Linked DNA regions of Homo sapiens: all the other regions are linked to region 1. Evidence: promoter capture Hi-C in 16 types of primary human blood cells and fetal thymus (Javierre and others, 2016). All regions are on one chromosome and are shown on one strand. Each heading gives the region's core, a stretch centred on a gene start or on the middle of the fragment in contact. The rest is flanking DNA. Distances are from core to core; before and after follow the strand shown.

Region 1 (3,216 bases), core at 125-2,624:
TTGTTTGTTTAAGATCTTTTAAAATAATTATTTGCTATTTGTGTATCTTCTTTGGTGTCTATTCAAATCTTTTGCCCATTTTTAAACAACGAACTGTTTTATTATTGCTTTCTGAGTGCTCCTTATATATTCTCCATACAAGTCCTTCATCAGATACATGCTTTGTAAATATTTTCAGTATGTGGCTTCAAGTCTTTTGAAGAGCATAAATTTTTACTTTGTTGAAGTCCAATTTATCAATTTTTTTCATCACGCTTTTGGTTTAAGAAATATTTGCCTAAATAAGGTCACGAATATTTCCTCCTATGTTTTCTTCTGGTATAGGTTTAGGTTTTCCATTTACATCTACGATCCATTTTGAGTTTTTTGGGGTGTGTATGTGGTGTGAGGAATAGATCAACGTAATGAGAGGGGATAAAACACAGCCACGAAGAGTTTATAGATAGGAAGTGCAAAAAGGTGGATGGAACCTGGGAATGAAAAAAAGCCAAGGTTCAAGGAAGCGGAGTTGGGCATTGTCGGGGAGGCAACAGGAAAATTCTGAGTAACCAACACTGCCTGCTAAGAAAAGCAATGACAGCTGTCTTTTTTAACTTGGATGAGGTCACCTTGGGAAGAGCATTTTCAGTCAAAACAAATCTTCCCTATTTCTAATTACATGTAACCAACAGCTTTATAAGAATTCCCCCGGCAGAAACACTTGAGAGGTCTGAAATCCCTGAGCACTATTAAAGGTCACTTCTTTAGGTACAGGAAGGTCTGGGATTCCTGACACTGAGGGTGACTGAAACATCCTTGGGGCACTCCAGGCATAAGGTCTTGGGGACAAACCCAAGGAGTCATTGCCTTGTTGGGAAATCAGAAGCACACTCACTGCTGGGTTTGCCAATCTCACGCTTCACCAGGAAGACACCTAGTTGAACTACAGGAGGATGAGAAGACTGGAATTAAAATCTGTGCACTCGGCCAAATCCGGGGACAAATCAGGAAAATCCTTCCCAGCCCTCCCTGTTTCTGGAGAGGAGGAGTAGGGCGCAGGGCCCCTCCCGACTCTCTTCCACGTGGCTCCTCTCGAGCGAAGAGCTACTGCACTTACCCAGGCTTAGGAAGCGGGTGTTTAAGCCATGGGTTAGAGGGCTCGTGAGCACGCCCGATCCTTTCCCTGAGGCTATGAAACGGTGGCTCCACGGACTCCTCTCGGCCGACTGACCTTTCGCCGCCCTGCCCCAGCAGCCGGCGGGTTTCTTCAGTGGAGCCGGGCTCTGGTCTCCGCAGCCCAGTAGCCCGCTAGCCCGGCCCCCTCCCGCTAGTCGTAAAGTGCAGTAAAGGCACCAGCATTTTGCGGCACCGTAGGTGAGGCCGGCGGCGTGGGCCTTTTCTCTGCACGGAGCCGGCGCTTTTGCAGTTGCTTCTGCGGAAAGGTGGTAGTTAAGAATTTGTAAAGGCCAGAGAACTACCTACGATTCTCTCAGCGGGTAATTGGCTGCTCCTAGGTTTGTGTAACAAGAGGCAAAACTGGTAGGGTTGTTTAAAACCTCTTATCCCAGTTCTTAAGCGTGACATAAGGTTCCCAAACCCCTCCTTGTGACTTGCCTCTTCTCTTGTGCTACTTTGGTTGTCATCGTGTTCATCACTAGATTTTAGATGTCCTCGGTGTTACTGACGGTTTTTCTGTCCACTTCGTCTTGCAGTCTCTCTTCTCCTCAAGTTTGAAATGCTTTATCTCATCGGGTTGGGCCTGGGAGATGCCAAGGACATCACAGTCAAGGGCCTGGAAGTTGTTAGACGCTGCAGTCGAGTGTATCTGGAAGCCTACACCTCAGTCCTAACTGTAGGGAAGGAAGCCTTGGTAGGTGCTGAGCGTTCCCCAGCCTCCTGGGAAGAAAGCTATCTAACATCTGATTTTCATACACTAAGCTGAACAGAATTTTCAGGTCTGCTTGTTTAAACCCTTTGAAACGCATCCCTTGTTCATTAATGATCTGAGGAGCAGAAGAATGGAAATTTTACACCAACCAAGTGACTTGGAAAATGAAAGGGTGCTTTGTCCTATTTTACAAGTCTAATTTTGTGGCTTTCTCCAGTAAATAGGAAAGCTATTTTATACTCCTGGGGGATAGTTATCAAAACCCCTTATTTCATGAGGTAGTCAAGAAACCCTTTCTGAGTTGAGTGCTAATGAGGAGCTGACACAGCCTTAATGAGTTGGTTATATATATTCAAAAACCAAGCTGAAAGCTTCCCCCTTTGAAGTGTGTCCATAGGGAATGGCGATTGCCTTTTTGTATCCTATCCAGAGAGATCTTATCTTAAATAGACTATCTCCCAATAAGGCTTATACTGATACACTTGTATATATTGAGTGAGCCTGGACTTAATATATAAAAATGTATGAGTATACACTTACATGAGTATACACTAAGTAACCAAAGTATTTGTTAGTATATTATACATTTATAGTTGGCCCTCATAAGGGCCCAGTAAATTTGGGGGAAGGGTCAACTTCAGGTTCATTGTCAAACTCTAAGTAGAATGTAAATCAAAGGATTAATACATATGTTATGGGAGGAGGGAGCAGATTTATTGTCATGTCTTCCAAACAAAAAATAGACTTAAAATTTTTAGGCCTCAGATTACTTTAAAATCTTATAGAAGGAATTAAGAACTGCTACTTGAATTGGCCATGCATTTAAATAAAAGTTGTGTGTAAAGACCAACTTTGATATATACATATATGTGGAGAGAGAGAGAAAATAAGTCTTGCTCTGTTGCCCAGGCTGGGGTGCAATGGTATGATCATGGCTCACTGCAGCCTCAGCCTCCTGGGCTCAAGTATCCTCCCACCTCAACCTCTCGAGTAGCTGAGACTACAGGTGGGTGCCATCATGCCCAGCTAATTTTTTGTATTTTTTGTAGAGACAGGGTTTTGCCACATTGCCCAGGCTGGTCACAAGTTCCTGGACTCTAGTGATCTGCCCACCTCGGCCTCCTAAAGTGCTGGGATTGTATAGGCACAAGCAACCACACCCAGCCTAAGGCCAGCTTTGATTTAAAAAACATTTTTTTTTCTCATTTTTTCACTCTTAGGATAGAACCAAAATATCTAAGCTCGAAATGATGGAAATGTGCGTCTCTAATCAGTGATTAAGGAAAAGTAAAAGGAACTTAACACCTTCAAGAAAAGACAGACAAATAACAAAACAGCAGTTTGATAGA
Region 2 (2,955 bases), core at 84-2,583, 630 kb after region 1:
TAGTCTGGGAAAGAGATAATAAGCAAGTAAATGCATAAACAAAGTAATTTCAAATAGTAGCATGCTGTAAAGAAAATAAAGCAACAAAGGTCTAAAGGATGACTAGGGGTGGAGGTAACAGGGTAGAAATTAAGAGAAAATCTCTCTGAGAAAGTAACATTAGAAAGAGCCAGGCATGCAGAGGTCTGAAGTAAGAACATTCCAGATAGAACAGAAATATCAAGGCTCTTTGGTAGGAACAAGCATGGAATTTCAGTTAGAAGTCCAGCATGAGGGGAGCAACTTGAGCAAGGAGACCACAGAGGTAGAGAGGGTCAGATCAGAAAGGATCTTAATGGCATTGGTAAGGATAAATTTTATGCCAAGATCAGTGAGCAATAACAGATTTGAAACAGGGTAATGACGTGATCTAATTTACAATTTTAAAAGACTACTCTGACAGTTGTATGGCAACTAAATTAATGGGAAGCAAGAATATAAAAAGGAGACAACATATAAAGCTGTGGTCATAATCCAGGTGAACAATGACAGTGGCTTGGGCTAGGTGATAGCAACAGAGATGGAAAGATACATTCTGATTCAATATGTTTTAGAGGTAGAGCTGACCAAACTTACGAATAAGTAGAATGTGGGATGAGCGAACAAAAGAAATCAAAATGACTACTCTTTTGATTTAGCAAGTCACTGATGGTAGTCCACTTACTAAAAAGGGAATGACTTGGGAAATAAATACATTTAGGGAGAGAAGGAATAAAAACTTCTGTTTTGTCACAATAAATTTGAGGTATCATTTAGATGTATAATATGGAGCTATCAAACAGGCAGTTGGATATTTGATCTTTACAATAATCCTGTGAAGCAGATAAGGAAACTCAGGTATTATCCAAATTTTACAAATGAGAAAACTAAGGCTTTGAGAAAAAGGTTTGTCTTAGTACAAAATACTTTTATTAGTCAGTCAATGCCACTTAACAGAGGGCCGATTCCACATTTTAGGAACAGGAACACCTTCACTCTTAAAGACTTCTGTTTGATAAAATATACCTACCTACCTAGCTTGCCTCATGTAAGTTACATGGCTGCTCCGAAGGTAAAGGTCTTTTGTATCCAGAGAAGATTCCCCCAGAAAACGGACACTTATCCAACTAGCAACATTTAATATATGTAAATTTTAACTGAGATATATGTATAATGGATATTATTGACTATCTTACAAGACTGTCAACAAGTAAATACATACAAACAATACGAAGAAAGGCATAAAATTCTCTTTAAGGATCCACTGCCAATTTTTAGTTCCGTGTGTATTAAGGGTTTGTGTCAAAAAGCCCTCTGGGGAATACAGTTACAAAATTAGAAAAATCAATTGGGACATGACCAGTTCAAGAATAATCACTTCACACTGCTTCTCAAGACTGTAACTAGTGTGTAAGACAAGCTCATGCTGTACTCAGCACTTCTTCCACCATGCTAGGACTGCTTTTTCCCCTTTTGGTTGCTTTAAAGTGGTGGAAACTTCTCCATCAGAAGACATATTTTGTCACAGAGTATTTTGTGACAAGCTCAACGCATCTAATTTAATCCTTTCAAAGTTCTAGAGGCACCCTGCTAAAATGAAGAACCACACTAAACAAAACAGGAAGAATAGGTGTTAAAAAGGAAAGAAGAGGTTGGGTGTGGTGTCTCACATCTGTAATCCCAGCACTTTGGGAGGCCAGAGCAGGGGGATCACTTGAGGCCAGGAGTCCTGAAGCCAGGCTGGGCAACAAAGCAAGGCACTGTCTCTACAAAAATAAAATGAAATTAGCTGGCTGTGGTGGCACACACCTGCAGTCCCACCTTCTAGGGAGGGCTGAGGCAGGAGGATCGCTTGAGCACAGGAGTCTGAGGATACAATGGTCTACAATCGCACCAGTGCACTGCAGCCTGTGGGGCAGAGCAAGACTCAGTCTCAATAAATAAATAAATAAATAAGTAAGGAAAGAAGAGAGAGAAGATGCAAGGGAGGGAAAAAGGGGTAAAGAAATGAGAAGAGTAGGGCAAACCTGAGGTCCCCAGAATGGCAGGCACAGGTTTGGTGGCTGGAGAGGTTGAGGTGGATGCACTGCTATATATATATATATTTTTTTTTGCGGTGGGGAGGGGGAACAGAGTCTCGCTGGGTAGCCAGGCTGGAGTGCAGTGGCGCAATCTTGGCTCACTGCAACCTCCCACTCCTGGGTTCAAGCGATTCTCCTGCCTCAGCCTCCCGAGTAGCTGGGACTACAGGCTCGCATCACCACGCCCAGCTAATTTTTGTATTTTTAGTAGAGACATGTTGGTCAGGATGGTCTCCGTCTCTTGACCTTGTGATCCGCCCGCCTCAGCCTCCCAAAGTGCTGGGATTACAGTCGTGTGCCACCGCTTGATTGATATTGACCACTTGATCCATATTTTGATCAAGGTTATGAAGCCTCTGGTGTGCAGGAAGCAGCTGCAGTGCTGGTGGAGAAGTAAACTCGCAGATACCAACCTACTATGAACTACCTGAGATACCTGACAGTCCTGGATTATTCTGCTTTTGAAACTGACATGATGAGAAATGAATTTGAGAGACTGGCTGCTCGACAACCAACTGAATTGCTCAGTATGAAACGATATGAACTTCCAGCCCCTTCCTCTGGTCAAAAAAATGGCATTACTGCATGGCAAGAATGTGTAAACAATTCTATGGCCTAGTTAGAGCATCAAGCAGTTACAACTGAGAATCTGAAACTAATGTCACAGCATGGATGTAATGCCTGGAAAGTATACAATGAAAATCTAGTTCATATGATTGAACATGCACAGAAAGAACTTCAGAAGTTAAGAAAACATATTCAAGATTTAAACTGGCAGAGAAAGAACATGCAACTCACAGCTGGATCTAAATTGAGAGAAATGGAGTCAAATTGGATATCTGTAGTAAGAATTATG
Region 3 (3,367 bases), core at 602-3,101, 660 kb after region 1:
TATGCCTCTCTTTTGGCAAGAGCCTCAGGTTAAAGGTAGAAAAAAAATAAGCAATCCTAACCCAGAGGACTTCCCACCCCACAGTATGTTGAAGCTCAGTGGGCCAGCCTTTATATCCCACAAAAAGACGGATGAGCTTCAAGTTACACTAAAAAAATTCAGTCAAAAGTTTTGCACAACCAAGAGCAATTTTGAACAAGTCTTCAAAAGTCAGAATTGTCACAAATATAAAGCCAACAAGCTCTATCTTATCTTAAGGTCATTTGATACAATACTTACACTTGTAAGACTATTTATGTATTTAAAATAATATAGTCTTATACATATAGTTTTCTAGCTTACTATTAATAAATATATTTTTAAATGTCAAGATCATTGAAAAATTGCTGATAGTTGTTCACACCATGCTGGGTTATCACCAACTTTGGTATAATGAAATACTGTGAATAAAGAAGACATCTTCCAACAACATGCTCCTTTGTAAGAACCTTCTTCACCAGAGTTGAGGGAAAAATGAAAACATACTTATAATACATACTATTAGCTAGAGGGAAATTCAAAATAAAAATTAATTGATAATCAATGAAAATAATCAAATGTGCTAGATTTATTTGGGCAGCTTGGAACAAAAGCAGGGTGGAAGAGGAGAAATGGAAGGTCATCAACCTGGGGATAGTGAAAAGGGAGGAGATGGTAGAAATAAGTACTTCAGAGACTATTCAGAAATCTGAGGGCTGAGTGCACTCCTAAACTTGAAGTTAATGACAATGGACAGAGTCTTCTCCACTCTGGCATTTCCTAGGAAAAGGCTTCCAGAGCCACAGCCAAGCACGGGTCCCCACTTTGTCTTGGCAGAGGGGAGTAGTCTTTTGGTCTCATGTGGCCAGGGAAAAACACGGACATTTTATTATTTCAGAGTACCCGTGCGTTCATCTCCAAATGAATTAACAAATGAACGAATGATTCTCTCCACCTATTTGCAGATTTCTTCTAAGAAGATTGGCAAATTATGGGTCAATGCCTACAATGAAACTCATGAACTATTAAGGGAAAATCGGTCCATCCATCTTTTTATTCAGTAAGTGTAAATAGCTAAAATCAAACCCTTTTCTGTTTTGACAGGAAAGAAACTAAAAGAATTGGAGCATTTGGAGTCCTGCAAGTGGAGGAGGAAGGAGGTTCATCTCCTTACCAGGAGAACAAAGAAACAGGAGCCCAAGGATCAGAGCAAACATTCACAAGGGTAGGATCACCCACCACCCCACAGGTGCAGGTCCTACAAATTTGAAGGGACATAGAAGCTGGGCCTAAAAGCCTTGCTGTCATACTCAACATGTGCAGCTCTTCTCACAGATTTATGAAGTTTATGATGTACCATTATTTTGTCTTCGGTTTTTCTAATAAACTATAATTTAAGTGAGTCAATTCCCAGAGGAATCATTGTTTGAAGTATTGTTATACCTTATTCTACACATTAGAAGCTTCATGTGAAAATTCCCAACACCTCAGCAAAAAGATAAGCTACATTCCAAGAAGTACTCATTCATTCAACAAAATTTATGACTACCTATTCTGAGCAAGGCATTACTAGTTAGCATATTCATCACAGAGTACTTGCAATACAAAAAAAATTAACTGCTTTAAAAACAGGATGAATAAATTCTATAAGATCGTTATAAGGCATGCCAACCTTTCAATGTTTTACCAGCACTGCTGACGTTTTTTGTCTCTTCATTCACTTGCTCACTCAAATAGTTACTAAAAGCCTATTGGTCACCAGTCCCTACCCACAAGGAGCTCACTATCTACTGAGAAGACAGGTAAAGACATTATTACAATGTGATAAATGCTAAAATAGCAGTATCCTCCAAAACACAATGAGACCGTGTGTGTGTGTGTGTGTGTGTGTGTGTGTGTGTGTAAAATTTTGTTGAAATTGATCAGCAATGCCTCTGGGCCACACATTACCTAACAGTTTCCCTATCACTAGAATACTATCCGCACCCCTCCAGTCAGATGATAAAGTTTCTGTATGAGACGTGATTATTATGGCTGAACTCATAATGATCACATTTTAAAAAGGTCCTAACTGCATAACAAATACCAACCTCAGATGAGGGCACTAGTCTGAGTTTTTGCTCAAGCCCTTTAGCATAACCACCCACAGTCACACTGATGCCAACTTCTTGGGGAAGAGTTGCTGCACATCTAACAAGCTTCCCACACACACAGCAGTCTGATGCAGAACTAAAGATCACTGGGTGCCAAAAGGTTCCAGTCCCAATTTGGTCACTCAGTGTCCCTAATCTGGTGTCGTAGCCTCTCTGGGACTCCACGTCCTCATCTATCAAATGAAGCCACTGAATTAGATGGCTCCTAAAGTTCTTTCCAGCTCTTATGTAATATCATATATCACAGTTCTAGCCGCTATATAGACTCTACAGAGTCTATGACTCTAGTTATCCTTATTGGACAAACCCATTCAACTGTTCAAATGTTTCTCAAGGTCTACTTGCCCTATTTGATGTTCTCTGTTCTGTCTGTCCTCTCAGTGCATTGGGTCTGGGTACAGAAAACATTTCCCTCAGAGTGTCTCCTCTTTGAGGAAGGAAAAGAACACAACTTTTTCCATGAAATTCACTGTTTTCTGCACAGCCAGAAAGCAAACCCACAGACTACAAAGCAGCTACATGTATTAGGAAACTTATCATCTTTATTACTTACTTGTCTGCAAAAAGTCTGACATTTGTTGAGATCATAAAGGAAGGAGAGAACCCCAATATCAACTATCAATCCTGTCCCTTGATGCATTGTCTAGATTTCTAAGAAAGTTCAGGTTTACAACACCAGAGGGTGAGGAACCATTCTCCACTTATTACCTTCTTAACCCGAGGTAAATACTGGTCAGGTCAGGTGTCAGCTGCTGTTTCTGTAAAATAAGTGAGTGCTTTCACTTTGCCTTAAAGCCAAACAACAGACCAGATGGTATCAAGAAACCTTCCAGTATCAGGGTCTGTAATTCTAACATCCCTCGTTAGAGAAGGTCAGTTAATAAAAACTCCCTTAGAGACTCAGATTAACGAAAACAAAAGGAGACTTCTTCAGGAATGCACTGGGAAAATTAAAATTCACTCCCACAGAAATATTCTCAAGCAGTGTAAATTAACTCCATTATTCAATGGCTAGTACTGAAGGCAGGAGAGCTATACAGACAGTATATGCAAAGCTTTGTTAGAAAACAGAATGATGAGCGATTCCCCCATACATAAAAGGCTAACCCTCAGATTTCATAAAGTGGCTGAGGCTCTCAAAAGGAAAATAATTACTCTAAAATTTGTGGTGAGGATCACAGGGCCGGGGGCAACGG

The links. The method cuts DNA at HindIII sites, captures the fragments that hold promoters and counts their contacts. A CHiCAGO score of 5 or more calls a contact.
Region 2: a contact is called between a fragment that was not itself captured here and the fragment with the promoter of DPH5 in region 1, in 1 of 17 cell types (activated CD4 T cells). The highest score is 8.6, in activated CD4 T cells.
Region 3: a fragment that was not itself captured here is called in contact with the fragment with the promoter of DPH5 in region 1 in 1 of 17 cell types (monocytes); the score reaches 5.1 in monocytes.

Annotation. Positions count from the first base shown.
Region 1 is chr1:101,023,942-101,027,157 of GRCh38, reverse strand. DPH5 (diphthamide biosynthesis 5) reads left to right here and starts at 1,374. Exons shown (of 8, transcript NM_015958.3): 1 at 1,374-1,475; 2 at 1,692-1,849. The coding sequence starts at 1,715. DPH5-DT (DPH5 divergent transcript) reads right to left here and starts at 1,312. Exons shown (of 5, transcript NR_109849.1): 1 at 1,097-1,312. RefSeq lists enhancers at 1,443-1,552, 645-1,844. The HindIII fragment of the contact is 3,765 bases long and covers 1-2,240 here.
Region 2 is chr1:100,393,131-100,396,085 of GRCh38, reverse strand. All of the region lies in intron 4 of CDC14A (cell division cycle 14A), which reads right to left. It also overlaps the pseudogene BCAS2P2. Among named protein-coding and RNA genes, the nearest start is that of CDC14A, 42 kb to the right of the region's middle. The HindIII fragment of the contact is 4,409 bases long and covers 1-2,955 here.
Region 3 is chr1:100,364,496-100,367,862 of GRCh38, reverse strand. All of the region lies in intron 2 of CDC14A (cell division cycle 14A), which reads right to left. Among named protein-coding and RNA genes, the nearest start is that of CDC14A, 14 kb to the right of the region's middle. The HindIII fragment of the contact is 735 bases long and covers 1,484-2,218 here.